Regions from separate parts of the Homo sapiens genome. Here regions 1, 2 and 3 are each linked to region 4. The links are contacts of gene promoters, found by promoter capture Hi-C in blood cells and fetal thymus (Javierre and others, 2016). All regions are on one chromosome and are shown on one strand. Each heading gives the region's core, a stretch centred on a gene start or on the middle of the fragment in contact. The rest is flanking DNA. Distances are from core to core; before and after follow the strand shown. Region 1 has its middle 5.0 kb from the start of ZNF273. Region 2 has its middle 20 kb from the start of ZNF273. Region 3 overlaps ZNF273 (zinc finger protein 273). Region 4 holds the start of ZNF92 (zinc finger protein 92).

Region 1 (4,392 bases), core at 912-3,411, 480 kb before region 4:
AACAAAGTTGCAATAAACTCTTTCATGTATAAATCTCACTGAAAGGCACTATCCAGTAGCTATTTCCCTCAGTCTTTTCTGGAATTTTCTATCACTTGATTCAAAACCAACCTTATTTGAATCCTAGCAATTTCTAAAGCTCCAAAGGTAATAACAAAAAGGGAGTAGAAAAGAAGCCAAGTTACCCCAAACACTAAATGTCTAATATATTTGGTTCCGCAAATGAAATATATTTGGTTCCGCAAATGAACCAAAAACCACACAAACTAAAAAACAGTGGCTTTAAAACTCAACCTAAATTCAATGGTAGCAGTCAAATCTATATGCAAAAATTAGCAAAGACACAATACAGAAACCCAGTCTGTTATTCCAGGAAAAATAATAAAATTCTTATTTTGGCATTTTTCAGAAAGAATAAATACATTAAATATGACAAAATATACCCAGTCAAGTATAAGAAAATCTTTGAAATATAAATGATTTTATTCTTATTCTTAAATATTTACTATAATATATTTAGAAGAGCTTTTCAGTGAAAAATGCTTATAGCTACTATGTATAAATTAAAACAGCCCTTGGAAAAATAGTATCTTTTATTAATAATGCAGATCGCAGCTCCAAGGATGTAAATCTGGGCTCATAGCTCATGACCCAAATCAAGCTCAGATGATCTATGTAACAATCATAAGTTATAGTATTAAATTAAAATGCTTCTAGAAATAAAAATAAAAAGAGGTAAAAGCAAATGAAAAAAAGGGGAAGTGGATTCCTCACAATTACTCCTAAGGTATGGAATCAAACTAAGTGTTAATTAACAGGTGAATAAATATAGAAAATGTGGTATATTTACACAATGGAATGCTATTCAGCCCTTCAAAAGAAGCAACTCTTGTTATTTGCAACAACATCAATGAACCTGGAGGACATTATGCTAAGTAAAATAAGTCAGCACAAAAACTATAGAAGCAGAGAGTAGAATGATGATTGCCTGGGGCTGGGGGTGGAGGAGATGTGGGTCAAAAGTAATGGGTCTTCCCTATGTCTCTTACCTTAACATGTAATTTATTCTTCTCTCAGTTTTGATTCACCAGGGAATGGAATTATATGCTGAGGAGTCAAAACTTAATGTTGGTAGAGCTGAGAATAGCAGTTTCCTGGTAGAACAACCACTTCTCAGCAGTATAGAAATCACTGAAAGAAAAGTGTGTCTCTCATAAAAAGCTAATGTTTTTGTTTGTTTGTTTGTTTTCAGACGGAATCTTGCTCTGTCGCCCAGACTGGAGTGCAGTGGCGCAATCTCAGCTCACTTCAAGCTCTGCCTCCCAGTTTCACGCCATTCTCCTGCCTCAGCCTCCCGAGTAGCTGGGACTACAGGCGCCCGCCACCACACCCAGCTAATTTTTTGTATTTTTAGTAGAGACGGGGTTTCACTGTGCTGGCCAGCATGGTCTCGATCTCCTGAGCTCGTGATCCACCCGCCTCGGCCTCCCAAAGTGCTGGGATTACAGGCATGAGCCACCGTGCCCAGCCAAAAAGCTGATGTGTTTTAAGCAAAATAAGCATACGCATCAATAGTAAAATGCTTCTGGTAAAATAAAGGTTCATTTTGTTGATTTCTTTTTTTTTTTTTTTTTCTGAGACGGAGTCTTGCTCTGTCGCCCAGTCTGGAGTGCAGTGGCACGGTCTCTGCTCACTGCAAGCTCTGCCTCCTGGGTTCACGCCAGTCTCCCGTCTCAGTCTCCCGTCTCAGCCTCCCGAGTAGCTGGGACTACAGGCGCCTGCCACCACGCCCGGCTAATTTTTTGTATTTTTTAGTAGAGACAGGGTTTCACCGTGTTAGCCAGGATGGTCTCGATCTCCTGACCTCGTAATCCTCCCGCCTCGGCCTCCCAAAGTGCTGGTATTACAGGCGTGAGCCACCGCACCCGGCCTCATTTTGCTGATTTCTCTTGAGCTCAGGTAATATTTCACCAAAAGGCTGGCATATATTTAGCCAAAAAAGGGATATTGTTTGAAATAAGAATATTGTGAATAAAGTTATTCTGTCAATAGAATAACATTATTACTTCATACAAGTCTTACCTGTAGTTGTACATCAAATGCTACTTTTTATTAAAAATAGTATTTTATATAAGTATTCAATTTATATCACCTTTCTTCTCTATTTCAACACCTTCTTCACTTAACACCAATGGAAAGCAAGCCAGCTGGTGCCAGGAAAGCACGTGTTGTTATTGCCATTTTAATGATGACAGTGAAGAACACTCGTTTGAGTGTTCTTCGTTTGAGTAGTACTCGCGTGCCAAACGCTGTTCATTTAACACAAAGAACTGGTTTTCTATTTTATCCTAAATTTACTGATAACATTTTTAGCTAAGAAGACTTTGTCTCATTCAAGTGTGTTTTATGGAATTTGGTTGACATTTAAGTGTCTCTGACTTTCCTGGAATATATTATAATTTTTCATAAATCCATATTGAGTACTATAAATAAACAATCTTTTACTAAAAGCCTTTGTGAGGTAGAGTAGGATACATCAAATTTTATTATAATATGGTAAGTGTGTTAACCATGTTCCTAGTAATCCCTCTGAACACAGCATTCTCAGTTTCCAGTATTCACATTGAGTCACTTAGGGGAAATTGGTATCTCTGTAAGCAGGCAGAAGAAGGTGCCCAGTGGAGGTGCACCACATTGCATGGAAATGCTGTCCACATGCACCTTTGGGGTCTTAATTTAACTGGGCTGTCATTTGCATGGCTAGATACTTACTGAATCCGGTCATACTGTTTTTGGCAGCTAATGGCATTTGTTCCCCATAAGTTTTCTACAATTATTTGCTTTGCTGAAAAATAAATCTTTTGTTAACTTACTCTAAATTGAGAGACTAGATTTGCAATTTTCAATTTTTAAACATGAAAGCAAAGCAGAGAAGAACAATATGTGTATATAACATGCATTTTCCTGCCTATGAAAATTCTTGTATTGCCTTGGAAACCCTAGGAAGCCACCTAAAGAATTCTCCCTTCAAATTGTTTAGCCAGAATTTTAAATTTCAAAAGGTCCAAAACTTAACAATTGAGCAAAGCAAAAATCTTGTCTTTGCTTCTTGTTAGTAATCTGTCATTTCAGAAAACATGGCAATTATGCCAAGCCATTGAAAAAAAATGTGATTTTGGTTAATTTTATCCCATTTAAAATGTTGTCTTTGTTACTTTTATCATGTTAATCTAAGAGAAACTATCTACATAACTATTTATGCCTTCAGGAAATATTATGCCAGGCGCAGTGGCTCACGCCTGTAATCCCGACATTTTGGGAGGCCAAGGTGAGTGGATCACTTGAGGTCAGGAGTCCCAGACCGGCCTTGCCAACATGGTGAAACCCCATTTCTACTAAAAACACAAGAATTAGCCAGGTGTGGTGGTGTATACCTGTAATCCCAGCTATTTGGAAGGCTGAGGCAAGAGAATCACTTGAAACTGGGAGACAAATGTTGAAGTAGAGCCAAGATCTTGCCACTGCACTCCAGATGGAGATAAAATGAGACTCCATCTCAAAAAAAAAAAAGAAAAAATATTTCTATTAAGTTGTTTAAAGTTCAGTATTGTAGTACAGTATAGCAGAATTCTCTAAAATTAGCAGAAGTTCATTGTAATTTCAAGGTTTTTTTTTTTTTTTTGAGACAGAGTTTTGCTCTTGTTGCCCGGGCTGGAGTGCAATGGCGTGATCTTGGCTCACAGCAACCTCTGCCTCCCGGTTTCAAGTGATTCTCCTGCCTCAGCCTCCTAAGTAGCTGGGATTACAGGCATGCGCCACCAAGCCTGGCTAATTTTGTATTTTTAGTAGAGACGGGGTTTCTCCATGTTGGTCAGGCTGGTCTCGAACTCCCAACCTCATGGGATCCGCCTGCCTCGGCCTCCCAAAGTGCTGGGATGAGCCACCACACCCTGCCTGGTTTCAAGGGATTTAACTGTGATAACAAATGATTAGGTATGCTTTATGCTTTTTCTTTTCTCTCTCTTTTTTTTTTTTTGTTTGTTTGTTTTGAGACCAAGTCTCGCTCTGTCACCCAGGCTGGAGTGCAGTTGTGTAATCTCGGCTCACTGCCACCTCCATTTTCAAGGCTGAAGTAATCCTCCCACCTCAGACTCCTGAGTAGCTGGGAATACAGCCTTGTGCCACCATGCCGGGCAATTTTTGTACTTTTAGTAGAGATGGTGTTTTGTCATGTTGCCCAGGCTGGTTTCAAACTCCTGGGCTCAAGTGATCCATCCACCTTGAACTCCCAAAATGCAAGTGGTACAGGAGATAGAAAGAAATTGTTTAGGCAGATAGCGAGGGTAAAAGAGTCCCTGGCAAGGTTTCCCTTTTAACCAAAAGCAGCCTGAA
Region 2 (4,257 bases), core at 55-2,554, 490 kb before region 4:
TTCTCAATCGAGCAGGCACTTCACGTCGTGAGGCGGGCACTCCTCCATCGTCTCGGGATTTCATTCCGGGGACGGAGAGTGTGAGCTGCAGTTAGGTCAGATGGGGTGAGGATGCAATCTGGTGAGGTGTGGATGGGGTCCCGCACCTTCATCTGCTAAACAGGTGCGGACAGATGATACAGAAGGTGCTTCCAAATCCACCCCCGCATTCCCTTCGTCCACAGGCCGTCCAAACCATAGCCCAGTGCCCAGCTGGGAGGATTCCAACCTGCCAGGGAACAGTTGGAGTGCAAACCCAGGCCATTCTGGCCAGCTCCCGATTTCCGCAGTCATTCCGGGAGCCACAGGGGAGTGGGATGGACTGAGGCTGGGTGGGATGTGGCCGGCACACCAGCCTCCTCTTTTCCTGACTTCCATGTTTCTCGTGGGCCTAGGGTTTCCTGGGTCTGGCTCAAAGGCTTCCACAGGAAACGATTCCCTGTCCACGGAGGACGACCCTCATGGGGACAATTGAATGAGTGTTTCCTTCTAAACACTGTCACGGTTTAAGCACTAGGCTGCTGTGATACTTTTGGAAGGGTAAATTCCCGTTACATCCGCCAACAAGGAAGCTCTGGTTTTCCCACTTCTATCAGAGGGCTGCATGATTCCTGTAGGATGAGAAGCAGGCAACAGTGTCTGGCTTTTGCCGGGTAATCTAGGCTCTGTTTCATTTCATCTGCACATCCACTGTCCTTGTGGGGGGGCTGTTGCTGGGTGGGACTTCCTCTCACCCCAGATCTTGGCTGCCAGGGACTTCAGGGGGCACAAGGGACTTGGAGTAGGCTGACTTCACTCCAGGTCATGGGTCGTGGTCTCTTTGTGGGGGCTGGGGTTGTTTGAACTCTGCGGGAGGCTCTTGGGTCCTCTGGCAAGGATCCGTGAGCTTGACTTGGACTCCAGCCCAAACCCTCTAGTTCTGCCAGGCGAGTCTTGATTTTCTTGTGCTTTCACGGGGGATCCACAGTGCCCCTCAGCAGCACTCGTGGACACCCATTTCAGTCTTGCAATCGCTGTAGACGGACTCTGAGACACTCTCTGATCCTCACGTGCCCCCGTGGGATGCCAGTTCCAGGGGTGAGACCTCTTCTCCACCGTGTCCTTTCCTTTGTCGTGGTTCCTGCTTCTCCCAGATTGCCCGTGGGTGCTGAGAAGGGGGAGCCCCTAAACGGCCCGGGATGAAGGGAGGCCGTGAGCTCAAGGGCCCCGCAATCTTCCGCTGACACCCTCCTCTGGGGTCGCAGGTATGAATCCATCACCCGGAGACCCCTCAACAACTCACCAGACTGCATTCCCAACCCCCTGGGACCCGATTCCTGCACACAGCCTTTTTCGGGAAGGGAGTCCCAAGAGCAGCTTTCAGCGCCCACCTCACGGTCTCCAATCGCCTCCTCCTCCAGGGGGAGCCGACCACGGAGACGCCCCAGGAGGCCCTGTGGTCGAGACTTTTATAGTCCCGCAATGGTAGTCGCAGGCAGCCCTTTTCCTGACCAGGCCGTCTCTGCCTGCACCATTGTCCTTGCTTAGGCGGGCTGACAGCCCCGACAGCCTGGCGCCCGAGGCAGCCTCACGAATGCGCATGTGCCAGTGGCGGGGCACAAGGCGCCAGCGGCGAGCACTGGCTTGCTTCACAGTGAACGCCTTCGTTGCCTGGCGACTAGTCCCTGCGGCTTAGCGGAGAGGGGGCGTCGGCGTTGGGCTCTCGCCTGTCTTCTCTGGGGGGATCCTCGGGATACTCCCACGATCTAGGACAGGGCAGGGGCGAGCCAGCCTGAGGAAACGTCAAGGGAAGGCCCAGGGATACACCGCGAAATCCCTAAGAATCCAAAAGGATCCGCAGGAGGCGTCAGGCCTGCCTAGACGGAGTGGGGTGAGTCTCCTTAAACGTTGCCCCCCTGTGATTTCTGACTACAGCAGGCCTGTGTTCCCCGGGGCTGCCCTCTCCCGGGAGGGGCTTCCCGGCGGAGCAGAACCGCGCTGCCTCAGAAGCTGCCGGGCTGTGTGTTTCTGCGGGAGTGTTGCGAGTGTTGGCTGCCCGAGTGTGTATGCGGCTGTCTGTGTGTGCGCGTGTGTGTGTTTCTGTGTGTGTCTGTGTGCGTGAAGGCGGCGTCCGCTGAAAGGAATATGGCTCAAGCACTGCAGCGCTTTTTCTTTTTTTTCCGAGTGGCCCGACCTTCTGGTACGCCTCTGTGCGGCTCTGCTTGGGCTGCGGGGCTCCGCGTCCTGTATTTTTTCCGTGGTTCCTGAATCCGCGGTGAATTGGGGGGCTGGCTGAGACGCGCAGGAGCCCAAATCACCACCCCCCCCTCACCAAGCAGCAACTGGTCTAGAAAGAAGAGGAGCACACCACACCCAAGAAGAGAAACCTCCGAGCGCCTCCTTTTCCGGTGGCCAACCCAGGGCCAGACCCTAGCAGTCCTGTGCGCAGGGCTCCTTGAATCCACCTCGAATTCGGTTCCCAGCCGAGCAGGCGCTTCACGTCGTGAGGCGGGCACTCCTCCATCGTCTCGGGATTTCATTCCGGTAATGGATAGTGTGAGCAGCAAGTAGGTCAGATAGGGGTAAGGATGCAATCTGGTGAGGTGTGGATGGGGTCCCGCACCTTCATCTGCTAAACAGGTGCGGACAGATGATACAGAAGGTGCTTCCCACTTCACCCCCGCATTCACTTCGTCGCACAAGCCGTCCACACCATGGCCCGGTGCCCAGGTGGGAGGACTCCAACGTGCCGGGGAATAGTTGGAGCAAACCCTGACCATTCTGGCCATCTCCCAATTTCGGCTGTCATTCCCGGAGCCACATGAAGTTTGAATGGACTGAGGCTGGGCGTGATGTGTCCTGCACCCCGGCCTCCTCTTTTCCTGACTTCCATTTTTCTCGTGGGCCTAGAGTTTCCTTGGTCTGGCTCAAAGGCTTCTACAGTAAACCTTTCCTTGTTCACAGAGGACGACCCTCATGGGGACCATTGTATGAGTGTTTCCGTCTAAACACTGTCACGTTTTGCGGACTAGGCAGCTGTGATACTTTTGGAACAGTAAATTCCTGTTACATCCGCCAACAACGAAACTCTTGTTCTCCCACTTCTATAGGATTGCAGCATGATTCCTATATGATGGGACCTAGGCTGCCAAGTCTGGCTTTTGCCTAATATTCTAGGCTCTTTTTCATTTCATCTGCACGTCTTTTCTCATTGTGGATTTCGTTGGTCTTTGGGCTGTTGCTGTATGTGAGTGCCTCTCACCACAGATCTTTTGCTTGCCAGGGATTTTAGGGATCTCAAGGGTTTTTCAGTAGTTTGGCTGCACTCCAGGTTGTGGGTAGTCGTCTCATTTTGGGGGGCCGGATTTTTTGCACTTTACAGGAGTCTCTTGGGTTTCTGGCAAGAATCCATGAACATGGGTTTGACTCCAGCACAAACCCTCTCATTCTCCCATTTGAGCCTTTATTTCCCTTTGCTTTCATGGGGGATCCACAGTGCCCCTCAACAGCACTCCTGGGCACCCGTTTCAGTCTTGCAATCACCCCAGACGGTTTCTGAAACTCTCTCTCAACCTTATGTGTCCTTGTTGGATGCCAGTTCCAGGTGTGAGACCTCTTCTCCGTCTTGGACTTGCCTTTATTGTCGTTCCTGCCTTACCCAGACAGCCGCGCTGAGAAGCAGGACTCCCTGGGGGGCCCTGGATGAACGGAGGCAGTGAGCTCAAAGGCCTCACAGTCTTCCACTGACACCCTCCTCTGGGGTCTCAGGTATGATTCCATCACCCGGAGATCCCTCAACAACTCACCAGACTGTATTCCCTTCTCCCTGGGACCGGATTCTTGCACACAGACTCTTTCGGGAATGGAGTCCAAAGAGAAGTTCCCAGCGCCCACCTCACATTCTCGAATCGCCTTTTCCTCCAGCGGGACCCGACTAATGAGACGGCCCGAGGATGCCCTATGGTAGTTACTTTTAGGCTTCCACAGTGATTGTCGCAGGCAGCATTTTCCCTAGACTAGGCCGGCTCTGCCTTCCCATTTTCCTCTGCTCAGGCAGGCTGACAGCCCTGACAGCCCTGACAGCCTGGCCCCAGCACCTGCCTCGCGGATTCGCATGCGCCAGTCGCGGGACACCTGTCGCGAGCGGTGAGCCTTGGCTCGCGTGTCAGTGTATGCCACCGTTGCCTGGTGACAAGTTTCTCCCTCTTGGTGGACCAGGGGACCTTTGTGGACACGTGT
Region 3 (4,339 bases), core at 668-3,167, 440 kb before region 4:
GCAGCAGAGTATTTATTTTGAAGAGAAACATTAAAAGTACAAAGAGGTTTGTAGTACCTTTGTTTGTATCATAGATCTTATTGTACACATTTTGTACCAGAGAAAAACCCTGAAGCAGTTGTTCAAACTTTGTTCAATACCAGGAAATTTATATTGGAGAAAAACCCTATGAGTGTAATGAATTTGGAAAAATATTTTTTTCAACAACAGCTTAGAAAACATGGGAGGAATTACACTAAAATATATTTTTGCAAATGCAGCAGTAAATATGAAAGAAATGATCCAAAGTTAGGTTTATATAAATATCAGAGAATTCACAATACAGATATCTAAGATACTGACACTTCAGACATTACACAAAATCAGAGTGCTGAGTACAGAAAGTTATCCAAAACAAAAGTTGGTAGATAACTAATAGTGAACAAGTTTTTGGCAGAGGTATATTTACATTCAGAGTACACTTTTCTTTGGAAAAAATTACAGGTTTTTTGAAAAGTGAATAATGTAATTCAACTCTCAAATTCATGGTTTTTTTTTTTTTGGTTTTGGTTTTGGGTTTTTTGTTTGTTTGTTTGTTTGTTTTTGAGACGGAGTTTCACTCTTGTTGCCCAGGCTGGAGTGCAATGGCGTGATCTCAGCTCACCGCAACCTCTGCCTCCCAGATTCAAGCAATTCTCCTGCCTCAGCCTCCCTAGTAGCTGGGATTACAGGCATGTGCCACACCTGGCTAATTTTTGTGGTTTTAGTAGAGACAGGGTTTCTCCATGTTGGTCAGTCTGGTCTCAAACTCCCAACCTCAGGTGATATGCCCGCCTCGGCCTCCCAAAATGTTGGGATTACAGGCATGAGCCACTGCACCCGGCGCATGTTTTTTCTTCATTCCTATTGTATTCACATGTGAAAGCATGTGATCAACTTGCTGCATCAAAGATATGAGATTTTTTTTTTTATTAGGTGGGCATTATTTATGACCTTTTCTGTGGAAGAGTAAGAACATTAAAATGAAAGATGCATGATGAAAATCTAAGTAGAGAGGCTCTTGTGGTTAACTGATAATATTGAGTGATGCATGAGGTAGGTGTTCAGAGTAATATTCTGCATTATAGTGAAAAATTTTTAATATTAAAATTCAATTATATCATTTTATGAATTGTGCTTTTCATAATGCAGTACATTTCAAAATTTTTAGATTATGTATGAACTTAGATTTTTAAACATGTTTTAACATGTTAAGACTTGTGCATTCAGTGAAGCGTTATTATGCCACAAACTAACCTACCTCACCTTACTCAATGGTGTAGGTAAAAGATGATAGCAATATATTATTTGGTTACATAGTGGACTAACATTTTTAGTAATCTCTTTTGCCAGTGGCTTTAAACTGCAGATAAGTTAAATATTCCCATAGGTTTTACATTTATATTTTTTCTTATTTAAATTTATTGTTCTTATTTTTCATGGGTACATAGTATGTTTTTATGCTGTATATGGCATGTTTTGATACAGGTATATAATATGTAATAATCACATCAGGGTAAATGAGGTATCCCTTACTAGCATTTATCCTTTGTATTTTATTTTAAAATGTACAACTAAATTGTTATGGACTACAGGGTTATTTTTATGGTCATAATAAAAATTACAAAAGTATGAATAAAATACATACATTTCTGAGTCCTGAATATTTTTAAAAATTTGTTATATATTTTTCTTCTAACATGTGGCCTCTTTGCCTGCAAACATATAAAGACTCAGTTTTGATTTACATAGAGTTAAATATACATATATTTTACTTTAAAGATAAATCTTAAGTGTAAGAAAATTGTAGAGTAAGTGTGCTTGTGTGAGTATGTTTGTACCTGTTTTCAAAAGAAAACAGCAATATTGGAACAAAACAAATCATTTTAATAAGGTGACTAATTTATTAGAAAACTAACAACCTCAAAAATGCTGAAAGCAAATCTATACTCTCTCTGCTTTGTACTGAATTCATTACTGTAAAATATTATGGCTTATGGTTCAGAATCTCCCCATGCAGATGTTCTGTTTTTACTTGCCTGGTACTCATGGTAGAGCCATACATTTCTTTTTTCTTACAATTTCTTTTACAGTTTATGAAGTATTATATGAGCTGGTCAGGGATTACAACAATTATTTTTTTTATAAAATTTAGTAGTGCACAAAAAGTAATTTTTAGATGTAATTTTACTATTAGTCTATTAAGTTATATTTTATTTATTTAGTTAAAACATTGCCCTTTGTTCTTTTAATTGGAGAACCCTATGTAAGCCGACTTTTTTAAAGTTATTCTTTCTTTCACTTTTCATAATTTTCATAAGTAAATTTATTTATTTATTGAATTTGTTCAGGTAAGTACTAGGGAGGCTTCCTGAGTCATGAGGATGCTGTTCTATATAAACATAGCAGACAAACATGACAGTGCTTGATCTATAACAGATGCTCCATAGTAAGACATAAATATTCCTGTTGAAGTTAGTTTGTAACTTCAAGTCAGAAATGGAATATATCAATGGTGAAACAGTAACATTGATTTTTCATGTGGAGAGGACATTTTTTTTCCAGGCTGCGAAGCTGAATTCTGCCGAATTTAAAGAGAAATGCTGGTTATTTTCTAATTATATTCAGTTTTGTTTGTCTTATGTGTATTCCAACAATGTGTGCATCACAGCTCTTCTTTTTCTGTGTTATGGCTACAGTTTTCTTGCTGTTGTCTTTATGCCATGTCATTTCACATGGTAATTTAGTAAGTTTTGATGAGAAATTTGATATTTTTAGTGCACTGAAAAATTGGTTTTAATTGGTGAGTTTGCTTACCAATATAACTGTCAGATTGTTAAGATAAAAGGCATACGCTGTCCACAGGTGAGAGGATTAAATCACTTAGCATTGTTTTTAACTGTTTGTAAAAAAAAAAAAAAATATCTTACTAGATTCTTATACAAAGTGTGGCAAATATAAAATTTGCTAGAAAATATGTTAGAAATTTATTTATTTATTTATTTATTTAGAGATGAGGTTTCACTCTTGTTGCCCAGGCTGGAGTGCAATGGCGCGATCTTGGCTCACCACAACCTCCACCTCCTGGGTTTGATTCTCCTGTCACAGCCTCCCTAGTAACTTAGATTACAGGCATGTGCCACCACGCCTGGCTAATTTTGTATTTTTAGTAGACAGGGTTTCTCCATGTTGGTGAGGCTGGTCGTGAACTCCTGACCTTAGGTGATCCGCCCACCTCCGCCTCCCAGAGTGCTGGGATTACAGGCGCGAGCCACTGCGCCCGGCCAGAAATTAAATTTTTAAGAGAGCTAATGGTAAATCTGACTCGGCACGGTGGCTCATGCCTGTAATCCTAGCACTTTGGGAGCCTGAGCTGGGTGGATTACTTAAGGCCAGGAGTGCGAAACCAGCCCGGCCAACATGGTGAAACCCTGTCTTTACTAAAAATACAAAAATTAGCCAGCTGTGGTCGTGTGCATCTGTAGTCCCAGCTACTTTGAAGGCTGAGGCAGGAGAATCATTTGAACGCGGGAGTAACGTTTTCACACAGAATCTATTTTTAAGTGTGACTGTAAAACATTGCAAAATAATAAAATGACTTCTGTTGACTTGAAATTTGGAATAGTATTTCTTTTCCCTATTAATATTACAATTTGGAGGAATTCCTTTTTTAGATGCAGTCTCACTCTTGTCACCCAAGCTGGAGTGCAGTGGCGCCATCTCGGCTCACTGCAACCTTCGCCTCCCAGGTTCAAGCTGTTCTCCTGCCTCAGCCTCCTGAGTAGCTAGGATTACAGGCACCTGCCACCACGCCTGGCTAATTTTTGTACTTTTTAGTAGAGACAGCGTTTTGCCATGTTGGCCAGGCTGGTCTCGAACTCCTGACCTCAGATGATCCACCCACCTCAGCCTCCTGAAGTGTTGGGATTACAGGCGTGAACCACTGCGCCCGGTCTCACTTTTCTTAATATATATTTTTTTGGTTGGTGAAGTTCAGTCTACAGCTTTTATTCTTAGTCACCTATCTGTAGCCAACTCCTTGGTCATTTTCTCTGGAAAACTTTTGGAGATCAGGGCAACTTTTGGATTAAAACGTTTTCTATTTTTTTGCATGCAAATTTGTGTTCTGCCTTCACAGAATGGTGTCATGGGACCATAAGCAACACCTGCCCTTTTAGTGTCTTTCATACCATTACCATCTGTACCAGAAACTCCAGGTACCCCAAGCTTAAAGTAAAAACCCTAAAGTACATTGGCTTTTCCCACAGACTGTACTGGGTCCAGAACATGCTGTTAAATATCAGAGTTTCTGTGATTATGA
Region 4 (4,765 bases), core at 1,173-3,672:
TATGCAAAAAAAGGTAGAATGATACTGATTGCAAAAATGGTAGCAATTTTTTATCCCTTCTATGTCCACGCCCGTTGCCAGGGATTTTTACAGCTGTTCCCATTGAGATCCAGAATCTGTTTTCCGAAACCTAGATCTGGCTGGCCTTGTTTGCTCAAGGCAGTAAAAACATGTGACCATGATAGCGTGCCAGTTTGGGGCTTAGCAGTCTTGAATGCTTCTGTTTTTCTTTCACAATGCTGCCATCTCTGTGAAAAAAAGCCCATGCTAGGCAGCTGGAGGATGACATACCATGGGGAGGAGAAGCAAGGTGTCCCTGTTGACAGCTCCAGAAGCGCACATCCAGAAGCACAGCTGCCTAGTTAACAAGCAGCTGATAACACATGTCTGAAGGAGCTCAGCTGAGATCAGAAGAATTGCTCCACTGAGCCCAGCTTAAATGACTGACCATCTCAATTGTGAGCTAAGAAGCCTTAGCTGGGTTGGGCGCAGTGGCTCACGCCTGTAATCCCAGCACTTTGGGAGGCCGGGGTGGGCGGATTACCTGAGGTCAGCAGTTTGAGACCAGCCTGACCAACAAGGAGAAACCCCATCTCTACTAAAAATACAAAATTAGCCAGGCGTGGTGGCGCATACCTGTAATCTCAGCTACTCAGGAGGCTGAGGCAGGAGAATCACTTGAACCCAGGAGGCGGAGGTTGCGGTGAGCTGAGATCGTGCCATTGCACTCTAGTTTGGGCAACAAGAGCGAAACTCTGTATTTAAAAAAAAAAAAAAGCCTTGGTTGGTTTGTTATGCTGCAATACCTAACTAATACGTGCACACAGTGCAGATAGGATGCCAGGATTTAATGACAGGTTGATTACTGGTTGTTATAGTTACCTTCCAACAGTTGGCACCCTAAAAGTGCTGATTTTTTTTTCTGCTCTAAAGTTGGATGTTTTGTAAGATAATATTGAGTAATGCAGAAAAATATGTAGGCATGTTTGCATGGGATTGGTACTTGTACTCACACAATCCCCACGCCACAGGAGAAAACAGATAAACACACTCTGGCCACTAGGGCCAGGCCAAATAGCAAAATAAGTTTACCTTTAATCTGTTTTCTCTATACTTAAACACTGGAAGTGATGACTGTGGAGAGATCTGAAGACATAGCGTTTAATCTCCTGTGGCCCCATCATCTTTTGGTTACTGTCTGATCTCTGGAAGAAAGGTGGGCAACAGGTGGCCAGCAGTGGTGTACCTGTGGTTATTTTATTCTTGCTGCCCTCTGCTCTTTCTATGGTGACTATCTTGTTCCACCCTCAAAACTGTAGAAAGATGTTGGTAAAGAGAGGCTGTCCCCTCACTTCTGGCAGAAAAGGGGTGTTCAGACCCTTCACCCTCCTGATGTCAGGGCTGCATTTCAATGTGGCAGCTATTGGCCATGTGTAGCTACTGGCTGCCTGGAATGTGGCTGGTCTGAATTGCAATGTGCTAGAAAGGTAAAATAGAGTTAATTTCAAAGATTCAGTTCCAAATAAATATATATACTTTATTAATAATTACATATCACTCACATATTAGAATAAGGTTTTAGATATATTGGGTTAAATTGTTACAATCAATTTCACCTGTTTCTTGTTTCTTTTTAAAGTTTGGCTGCTAAAAAATGTACAATTCACGTGTCGCCCACATTTTATTTTAGAGGATTGCCTTCTTTTTAAAATTTCAGGCTGCCTGCTTAAAAAAACAGAAGTTGGCCGGGCTCTGTGGCTCACACCTGTAATCCCAGCACTTTGGGAGACCGAGGCGGGCGGATCACAAGATCAAGAGATCAAGACCATCCTGGCCAACATGGTGAAACCCCGTCTCTACTAAAAATACAAAAATTAGCTGGGTGTGGTGGCGTGCGCCTGTAGTCCCAGTTCCTCGGGAGGCTGAGACAGGAGAATCGCTTGAACCTGGGAGGCGGAGGTTGCAGCGAGTTGAGCTCGTGCCACTGCACTCCAGCCTGGCGACAGAGCTAGACTCTGTCTCAAAAAACAAAAACCAAAAACAAAACAAAACAACAAAACCAGAAGCCAGGAAGGTCATAAAATCTGAAAATTTTGAATAATTGGTATTATATTCTTTGCATTTGTGAATAGACATATAATATACTATTTATAAATGCATATGGCCTTATTCACAAGGTTAAATGCAAATACTGTCTGGGGTGGGCCTGACTCAGCTCAGGGAGGAAGCCCCGTCTGAAAAGGCTGCAGCTTAGGCTGTCACTCTTCCTTCAGTCCAGCATCTGATCACATCTCCCGTCACTCAGGGCCCGAAGGGGCGGGGCCTTAAACGTTATCCAATCAGGAACGCTGGGCTGGGAACCATCCAATCAGGCACGCAACTGGAGCGGACAGCACAGCTTCCGGGATTTGGCGGGGCCTTTGTCTCTCGCTGCAGCCGGCGCTCCACGTCTAGTCTTCACTGCTCTGCGTCCTGTGCTGATAAAGGCTCGCCGCTGTGACCCTGTTACCTGCAAGAACTTGGAGGTTCACAGCTAAGACGCCAGGACCCCCTGGAAGCCTAGAAATGGTGAGCCTGCTGGGTCCCACATCCCGAGAGAGGGGGAGGGTCTGGCTGGAACCGATTGGAAGTGGCTGTGGCGGGCCTCGGGCCTTCCCGCAGTCGGCTCCGAGATCCGCGGCCCGAGTTCTCCTTGGCGCAGCTCGGCCCTCAGTCTCCTTCAGCCATAAGATGGCGGCTGGGCTGACAGCCGGGACCCCGGGCGTCCTGTCTCCTCCCTGCGCAGTGACTGTGCTTTGGCCTGGAGCCCTCCCTGGGCAGCTCTGCACCCGCAGCGTCGCATCTCTCGCCGAGTGTGCAGGGACGACGGGAGAATAGTAAAGAGAAGAATCCTGACTCGGGGTGCGGGGTTTATGAATGGGAAGAGCTTTGGTCCGTGTGGTTCTCAGGTCCTCTTTTTTCCTATTAAAAATTTATGGGAGTCAAGGTAAAAATATTGAAGAATTTAATCAAAGAGCGATTCAGGAATTTTAGAGCACCCAGCTATGATTTGTAGTTTGTGGTCCGTGGGAGGGGCTTGAAGGAAACACTTTTATAAGATGCATAATGAAAAAAAACAAGTTTAATAATTGGTTAGGTACAGTTACGTCGTTTTTTAATTTGTATGATTAAGGTAGAAATTTCCTGGTCATGTAATCAGAGATTGTCAGTTTATAGTTGGTTAAGCCTGAATTTTGTTCCCTCGGTGTTATTTACCCTCCCCTCCCCCCGCCAAAAATGCATTTGAATTATATTTTTTTTAAAGTAGGAACCCAGGGACTAGAGCCACCTCAATCTAATTGCCTGCCACTTAATTATTTTCACATCCACAGGGGACTGATTTTCCCCTGCAGTTTTCACATGTGTCCCAAGCAGGGTCTCAAGTCTACCCCCCATCCCTCATTCCTCCAGCTTAATTCTGGCTTGCAGTAAAATACTAAATTTCCAGTTCCTTCTGACATTCCCAAATGCCAACTTACCCTCCCTAATTCGCATTAGCAAGTGTGTTTCCTTTAGTGTACATTTTCGATGGCATATTTTAATTAATCATTTTTGGCAAAGCATTGGATGGCACGTTTTAAAAGATTTGTTTCCTGTTTGTAAATATTTCCTATGAGAAGAAAGCAAAGAATAATCCCCTAACATTGTATTGTAAATCTCTGTGCCTCTTTTCTTTTTATCTTCCTTAGGCACAGAGATCTTATCAGAATGTTTTTGGGTCATGGTTGCTTTCCCTTTGGAAACTTTATGGGGTGATGTGTTCTCAGCCACCCTTCAGTTCTTTTTCTGGTCCTGGGTTTTAGTACTGTCTGGGGCAAGATACCTACCATGGCAATGTCGCTAGAGTGTCTAGTAAATATCAGCTCCTGGGTCATTTTCTCTCGTAGAATAACCTGAAGTATGGAATGTAGCTTCTCAAGGGAGCAGGTGGATGCCCTGGGGCTGAGAAGCATCTCCTGGGCTACTCTTCCTTTGAAAAGCTTACCCCTTGAGATATTAAGATTGTCTTCACTCAACCCAGCTTTCATTTCTTGGAGAAACATTGCTGGTCAGCCAATCAGATGCTGGTACTGGGAGGAAAACACCAAAATTATTTCTGTCCCCAGGATTCTCTAAGATTTGTGGAAAAAAAAAAAGTATTCCAAAAGATACAACAAAACCTGACCTGGAGATCGAGACCATCCTGGCCAATATGGTGAAAGCCGGTTTCTACTAAAATACAAAAAATTAGCCAGGCATGGTGGTGCATGCCTGTAATCCCAGCTACTCGGGAGGCTGAGGCAGGGGAATCGCTTGAACCCGGGAGAGGGAGATTGCAGTGAGCCAAGATCATGCCACTGCACTCCAGCCTCGAGACTCCGTCTCAAACAAACAAACAAAAACAACCTGATCCCAGTGAGATGGTACAAGAACTTGCAAAGTAAAATACACCTGGGGTATAGTGTCTTCTGAGAGGGTGGTTATTGAGTCTCCCTCTATTGCCCAGGCTGGAGTGCAGTGGCGTGGTCTCGGCTCACTGCAACCTCTGCCTTCTGGGTTCAAGAGATTCTGCTGCCTCAGCCTCCCGAGTAGCTGGAATTACAGGCACGCACAACCACACCCGACTAGTGTTTTGTATTTTAGTAGAGACTGGGTTTCACTCTGTTGCCCAGGCTGGTCTCAAACTCCTGAGCTCAGGCAGTCCACCTGCCTTGGCCTCCCAAAGTGCTAGGATTACAGGCGTGAG

What was found. The method cuts DNA at HindIII sites, captures the fragments that hold promoters and counts their contacts. A CHiCAGO score of 5 or more calls a contact.
Region 1: a fragment that was not itself captured here is called in contact with the fragment with the promoter of ZNF92 in region 4 in 4 of 17 cell types (M0 macrophages, neutrophils, monocytes and 1 more); the score reaches 6.7 in M0 macrophages.
Region 2: a fragment that was not itself captured here is called in contact with the fragment with the promoter of ZNF92 in region 4 in 2 of 17 cell types (neutrophils and total CD4 T cells); the score reaches 6.7 in neutrophils.
Region 3: a contact is called between a fragment that was not itself captured here and the fragment with the promoter of ZNF92 in region 4, in 2 of 17 cell types (M2 macrophages and M1 macrophages). The highest score is 6.4, in M2 macrophages.

Annotation. Positions count from the first base shown.
Region 1 is chr7:64,896,096-64,900,487 of GRCh38, forward strand. It overlaps a transcript of ZNF273 not described here. Among named protein-coding and RNA genes, the nearest start is that of ZNF273, 5.0 kb to the right of the region's middle. The HindIII fragment of the contact is 4,529 bases long and covers 1-4,392 here.
Region 2 is chr7:64,880,877-64,885,133 of GRCh38, forward strand. It overlaps a transcript of ZNF273 not described here. Among named protein-coding and RNA genes, the nearest start is that of ZNF273, 20 kb to the right of the region's middle. The HindIII fragment of the contact is 7,133 bases long and covers 1-4,257 here.
Region 3 is chr7:64,929,300-64,933,638 of GRCh38, forward strand. It overlaps ZNF273 (zinc finger protein 273), which reads left to right. Exons shown (of 4, transcript NM_021148.3): 4 at 1-1,682. It also overlaps the pseudogene VN1R42P. Among named protein-coding and RNA genes, the nearest start is that of ZNF273, 28 kb to the left of the region's middle. The HindIII fragment of the contact is 4,652 bases long and covers 1-4,243 here.
Region 4 is chr7:65,371,433-65,376,197 of GRCh38, forward strand. It overlaps ZNF92 (zinc finger protein 92), which reads left to right and starts at 2,423. Exons shown (of 4, transcript NM_152626.4): 1 at 2,423-2,568. The coding sequence starts at 2,566. RefSeq lists a silencer at 2,288-2,558 and an enhancer at 2,454-2,853. The HindIII fragment of the contact is 7,156 bases long and covers 1-4,017 here.